Linked DNA regions of Homo sapiens: region 1 is linked to region 2. Evidence: promoter capture Hi-C in 16 types of primary human blood cells and fetal thymus (Javierre and others, 2016). All regions are on one chromosome and are shown on one strand. The core of a region is centred on a gene start or on the middle of the fragment in contact, and the rest is flanking DNA. Distances in the headings are between cores, read along the strand shown. Region 1 has its middle 52 kb from the start of RRAGC. Region 2 holds the start of FHL3 (four and a half LIM domains 3).

What was found. Contacts are between HindIII fragments. The CHiCAGO score rates a contact against its expected background, and 5 or more counts as called.
Region 1: a fragment that was not itself captured here is called in contact with the fragment with the promoter of FHL3 in region 2 in 1 of 17 cell types (endothelial precursors); the score reaches 5.7 in endothelial precursors.

Annotation. Positions count from the first base shown.
Region 1 is chr1:38,806,656-38,809,850 of GRCh38, forward strand. No RefSeq gene overlaps it. Among named protein-coding and RNA genes, the nearest start is that of RRAGC, 52 kb to the right of the region's middle. The HindIII fragment of the contact is 770 bases long and covers 1,397-2,166 here.
Region 2 is chr1:38,003,535-38,006,969 of GRCh38, forward strand. It overlaps FHL3 (four and a half LIM domains 3), which reads right to left and starts at 1,980. Exons shown (of 6, transcript NM_004468.5): 1 at 1,823-1,980. RefSeq lists an enhancer at 1-798 and silencers at 1,651-2,010, 2,041-2,100. The HindIII fragment of the contact is 9,980 bases long and covers 2-3,435 here.

The DNA of each region.
Region 1 (3,195 bases), core at 532-3,031, 800 kb after region 2:
TTCTAAAAAAAGAGAATGAGATCATGCATTACTTGTGCAAGTGAAAATTATTTTAAAAGTTAGGCCAGGAGCGGTGGCTCACACCTGTAATCCCAGCACTTTGGGAGGCTGAGGCAGGTGGATCATGAGGTCAGGAGATCGAGACCATCCTGTCTAACAAGGTGAAACCCCGTCTCTACTAAAAATACAAAAAAAAAAAAAATTAGCCAGGCGTGGTGACGGGTACCTGTAGTCCCAGCTACTCGGGAGGCTGAGGCAGGAGAACGGCATGAACCCGGGAGGCGGAGCTTGCAGTGAGCCAAGATCGTGCCACTGCTCTCCAGCCTGGGTGACAGAGCGAGACTCCGTCTCAAAAAAAAAAAAAAAAAAAAAAGTTAGGCAGGTTAGGGGCAAGGAAGAATTGAATTCCAGGCAGAGGGAACAGCATGTGTGACTCAAAGATCTGACAAGAGAAGAGGTGTTATGGGGGAACTGGAGAAGGTCAGAAGGCTGGAAAATAGAGTGTGAGGGGACAGGGTCATGCGATGGGGTCAGAGGGCAGATTACAGGGCCAGATCAGGAAGGGTCTTGTGGGCCATGGTCATGAATTGGAAATTTTTCCCAAGACAATGGTCAGCCACATCGTCCTTCTCCCTGACACACACACACCTGCACACCTGCACAGATCCGGATTCACAGCCTGCCATGCCTTGTCCCGTCCTGCTGTCTTCCACCTACAAGGCTGCCCTCACCCAGTCTCTTGGGATCCCTCAACCTACCCTGTCTTACCTCTACACTTTTCCTCCTGCCTGGAGCCCCCATCATCCTTCATCCACCTGGCTAACACTTACCTGTCCTCCAAGCTGCAGCTCAGATATCACAGCCTCTGGAAACCACCCCTCCAACCTCCCATCTCCAGCTCCCACCAACCTCCAGCCTAGGAGAATTTCACTCTTTCCCCGCCTCTGGGCTTCCAGAGCCCCCAGAGCAACCCCATCGATGTGGGGGAGGGTGCTCATGGAGGGCGGCAGAGGAGAGCTACAGTGCTCCGTGTTGAGGACCCAGCACTGTCCCCATGCATCATATCTGTGTTGAATGAGCGACTGCACTCCCCAGCCTCCGCCCCAGCTGTCCTCAGAAAGGCTGGCTCCTCACAGGTGTTTCGGCTACAGCCCTGGCCTGCGTCCTGACCTGCCAGCCCTTCGCAACAATGCCATCCACATTCCTCCTGGGTCTCTGGAACACATCTCTGGCTTGCACTTCTCCTCTGAGCACGCTTATTCACCTGTCAGGTGGTTATCAGTGCCTGCCCTACTTCCCTCTTGGGATTGTGTGGCTAAAATGGAGAGTCAGTGCAGCAGGTATTAAGTTGTAATCTTCAAACTCAAGTGTCCAAGGAATACTTTTATGTTTGTTAAGCTTAAGTCCAGCTCTGAGGACCCAGCCCTCTAAACCAGGGGAAATTTAATCTGTCATTAATAGGGGTCTTCTCTGCCTTGGGGTTGCTCTAGGATCCTGGAGTCTTCTGCCACATCAAGCCCCAGAGAGGGCTTCTGGTCACCCATCAGTCATCTGCCCTACTTGTTCCTGCAGAGATGCCTGGGGATCCCAGCCTTATAGTGCTAGCCAGCCAGTTGGCTCTGCTACTTCCACAAGACTCAGCCTGCCCTCTGAGGTCATGTCATCTCTCCTGGACATAGATCCCTGTGACTCCCTTGGAGGGACCATGAGGCTCTATCTTCTCTCTCTCAATGTTTTCCAAGGTGCTTCCCACTCTCTAAGACACTCAGCATCATTTATGCAAGGGGCTTTGACTTTTACAGAAGAGACTTAGCTCGTCAATCAACTCCTGCTTTGCCTCCTGTAAGAATCCCTGAGGCAGAGGAAGTGGAAGGGCCAGGCTATTGGCTTGGAGCACAGGGATTGAGGAATAGAAACAAAGCAAAATTCATTCATTTGTCAAAAACAGATCCTGCCACAGGCATGCACCACAACGCTTCCATAGATCGTGAAGGGCCATGCCTTGGGCAGGAGTTACACAATGCCAAGTCCAGCCTGTGCAGAGGTTCAGTTACTTCCACGTGCAGACAACATCATCTGGACAATGCCTGGCCATGGCAAGCCATTAATAATAATTTGTGGAATGGATGAAAGAACAGAAAGGTCTGACTTCAGTCCCAAGCAGCAAGCTTTTCAGACTTAACCATGGCCATCAAAATCCACACATCAAAGGCTTGATACCTGGCATTAGCCTTTGGGCCCTCTGATTTCTCTGTTGCTCTCAACCCAGGGCAGGCTCTGCAGCCTAAGAGCCAGTGCTGTGTGACTGCCCTGGGCTGTTCCTCAGGACAAAATATCTTCCCAAGCCATCTTGGAAATAACCACATGGAAAATGACCACTAACATTGAACATTGGTGTTTTCCAATGCCAGGCACCCTCCTGTCTTCAATGCAATATTTCAATTAATCTGCACGAGAGCCCTATTACATTTCTCTTTTTACACCAAGAAAACTATAGTATAGAGGTGGGTTCCAGCCTACATCATCTGACTCCAGAGCATGTGTTCCTAACCATCCTGGTATACACTGCCTCCAATATGCCTACTCATACATACAAACACTCAAAACGAGCTCTTTTTTTTTTTTTTCCCTAAGACAGAGTCTTGCTCTGTCACCCAGGCTGGAGTGCAGTGGTGCAATCACGGCTCACTGCAGCCTCAACCTCGTGGGCTCAATCGATCCTCCTGCCTCTGCCTCCTGAGTAGCTGAGGCTACAGGTGTGCACCACCCATACCTGGCTACTTTTTTTATTTTTTGTAGAGACAAGGTCTTACTATGTTGCCTAGGCCCATCTCAAACTCCTGGGCTTAAGTGAGCCTACCACTTCGGCTTCCCAACGTCCTGGGATTACACTGTAAGCCACCACACCTGGCCATTCATTTTTGTTTTATTTAAAAAAAATAAAAAAAAAAGTCTGGGCTAGGTGCAGTGGCTCATGCCTGTAATCCCAGTAGGCCAAAGCAGGTGGATCACTTGAGGCCAGGAGTTCAAGACCAGCCTAGCCAACATGGAGAAACCCCTCTCTACAAAAAATACAAAAATTAGCTGGGCATGGTGGTGCATGCCTATAGTCCCAGCTACTCAGAAGGCTGAGGCAGAGAATTGCTTGAACCTGGGAGGCAGAGGTTGCAGTGAGCTGAGTTCGCATCACTGCAC
Region 2 (3,435 bases), core at 730-3,229:
AAGCTTAACTCTTGAGATCTCTCATGCAGGTCCACGGATGTAGACACCTGCATGCTGCTTTGCCACTCACAAAGTCCATGCCCACCACAATCTCATCAGATCTCACAAAAGGCAGGCAGGACAGAGTATCATCCCCATTTTACAGCTGAGCACAAGGAGGCCAGGAATAGAGCAGGTTCATGCCCAAGGTCCCGATCAGGACCCAGGTCCCCTGCCTCCCAGCCCAGAGCTCTTCCCTCTCCCTAAAAATGCTGCCCTGGTGATGAAGCGGATGGTGACATGGGGGTGGTCAGTTTTTAAGGGCAGGGGAACAGGAGATGCACCAGAGCCTGGCTCTTCTCCTCAGCTGCTAGCCCTGTGATTGGAAGACACCCAGAAGCCTTTCCAATGCCCCATGCCAACCATTCAATCCTTCTGCCCCCACCCCCAACATGCCCACTGTCCAGGAGGACCCTGGCCAGGTCCCACAGCTGTGAGTCAGGATCAGAACAGACCCCTCCCCCACCTTCTAGAAGCTGACAGGAGACTTAAGGGGAGAAATCCAACTCCCTCAACCCTCACCCTCTGCTACCGGGCACCAACCCCAAGCTCTGCTCTCCCCCATGTGGCCTGGAAGTCAGAGAAGTTTAGGGAAGGGGGTTGGGGAGCAAGATCCCGCAGCTGCTCTGGGGACATGAGAGGAACAGTTCATTCACCCTGGGTCCCCCAGGGCTGAGGCAGCCCATCCAAGATTTGAGTTCAAAAATAAGTTGGGGCTGTCTTGGTGGCTGTGTGTGTGCGTGGGGCTCTTCTTGATCTCGAACTTACTGTCTCAGGGCCTCTGCCTCATGGGGGATCGGTAGGCTCAGAGTTTCTGTTTCCCCACAGCCTCACCTCCCAATGGTTCAGGCCCGGGTAAGTCAGGGGCTGTCCTGGAAGCTGTCAGACCACCTAGGTCTCTCTGCCCCCACTTAGTCTCAGTTTCTGGTGTCTGTCTCTGCTTCACTCAGCATCTCTGTGTCTGGGCACACTTCAGTCTCTGTCTTTAGGTTTTGGACGGCTCTGTATCTTGACTGGCTGTCCCCCAGGGGGCCCATGCCTCTGTGGATCTCAAGTCTTGGTCTCTTCTTGTCTACATGGCTGAATGTCTCAATCCCCACCACCTCCCTTTCTCTGTCTCTGCATCCAAGTCTCTTTCGCCACCTCTGCACGCCTGAATGTCTCTGTCTCTAGTCTCTGAGCGTCTCTGCAGGCCTCAGAGAGCAGATTCAGCATGAGGCCAATGACGCCCAAGCCTCAGGGCACCTCCAAGGCCCGGGGAAGGGCCCTAGGGAATGTGTTCGCTGGGGTCCCACGTATGCTTTTTCTGAAAATGCTCCACAAAGCCTAGGACGGCCCCCATGCCTCGGGTCTGTCCACCAGTAACTCTGTACGCCCGGTGTGTCCTTGTTTCAGTGGTCTCGGTAGCCTCCTGTGCCTCGAGTCCCTGCCTGTCTCGGTCTCTCGCTCCACCGGGCTTTCCGAGAACCTCAGTTTCTCCAGCGCTTCTGGTCGGTCGGTCTGTCTGTCTCTCTCCGGCTTTTCTATTTCAAACTTAGCCCCCTCCCCCGCCCAACTCTCGCTGCCGCCCCCGCCCCCGCCCCGCCCGATAGCCCGGAGGGGTCCAGTCCCGGCGGGCGCTGTCCCGGGCTCGGCGTGCCCCGGGCACCCGTGGCCAGAGCCCGGCGGGTACAGGGGACCGGGGCCGCGGCTGGCCTCAGCCCTCCGCGGGTCCCTTCGCTCCCCGGCCTGGGCGCGGGGGCGGACCGCCAGGGCTGGGAGCCGGGGTCGGCGGGGCGCTCACCTCGAAGCGGGCGGCGGGAGCGGGGAGCGCGCGGCGCAGGCGGGGCCGGGAACCGGGCGCCGCGTCCCTCGGCGGCTCCTACCTGCGGGCCGGGCCAAGCGGGGGCCGAGCGAGCTGCCGGCGAGGCTGCCGACTGCAGACGGACCGTGTGGGCGAGTGGGAGCGCGGCCCCAACCCCTCCCCGAGGAAGTGAGCGCGGGCCCGCCCCGCCCGGACCCCGCCCCCGGCCCCCCAGCCCGCCGCGGGGGCCAGACCCCGCCCCCACCTCCCTTTCGGCCGCCAGTCGGCCCGGCCCCCTCCTCCCGCCCGGCCTAACCTGGCTCTCCCAACCTTCAAGCGGCCGGGACCCCGCCCCTGTCCCCTCCCCGCAGCCTCTGTTCTCCTCCCCTCCCACCCCCCATCCCCAGCTGCCAGAGGGAGACTGCTGTATTCCATCTCAGGCCGGCGACACGAGACCCCGCAGACCATGGTCCACTGGGGGAGTCCTCTGGCCTCCTCGGATCCCCCCACCCCTTCACCTTACCCCAGGGGTGACACTCAGCCCGGCCTTAATCCAGCCTGGAGGAGGACGTTTTGACTCTGCTGTCATGAGCCTGTCAGCGGGCACCAAGGTGTTCTCTGAAAACATGGGACGAAGAGAGGACCCCTCCCCACCATAGGGCCTTGACCTCCAAAGGGTTTTATTCCACAACTTTGAGTAGCAAAAACAGGGGTAACCACCTCCCCACTTCCAGCAGCCTCCTGACACTGAGAAGTCCTGCCTTGCCTGGGTTTCCGCAGTGCCCAGGAATAGTTTTGACCTTTGAGGCCCGGGGGAGACCCTAATCCTCGGCCCCATGATCTTTGGGCTTCTAGGGTGGGGTGTGAGGAGTGTGAGAGGATGGGGCACCTCAGGGGTGGTGGAGGAGAGGGGAGGGGACCTCTGCGGTGTCTGAGCCTCTGGCTTCCTCCCTGTGTCCGTGAGGGAGGACTGGCGCCTGCTAGGGACACGAGGCCCCTCCAGGTCCTTAAGGCCACCCCCCCTGGGATCCTCAGGCTTGTCACTAGGAATAAATAGCCTCAGTCTGGAAGAGGTGGGGGAGGGAGGGAGGCAGGAGGCTCTACTGTGCTGTTTGTGGAAACAAGAGACAACAAATCAACCCCGGAATAACCTTAGCATCTAGAGTGAAGATTCAGGTGCCCACAGAGGCCTCCCCACACCCCAGGCTGGGTGTAGCAGAGCTCTCACGGAGGAACTAACACCCTCCCAGGCTGGGGCTCCTGAGAACCTTTCCGTCCCATCTCTGCATCATGCCTGGGTTCCTGGGTCCCAAGTCACCCACCAGGTCTGGTTTCCTTTCAAAATTAAATCATTGCTTGCTTATTATTGCTGTTGTTGCCTAAATGGTAAGAGCCATGAAGGCAGGGCTCCGTTTTGTTCCCCACTGCCTTCTCAGTACTTACTCCAATATCCGGCACATAATAAACATCTGATGAATGAATGGATACCAGACACTGCTTCAGTATGTATGCCCCTCTAACATCCTCGGTTTGGATCACAGGCACCTGCTATCTGGAGTCCAGGCAGTGAGCATCCAGCCCATGGATGGGGCCTTTTTCTGGGATTTTTTTTT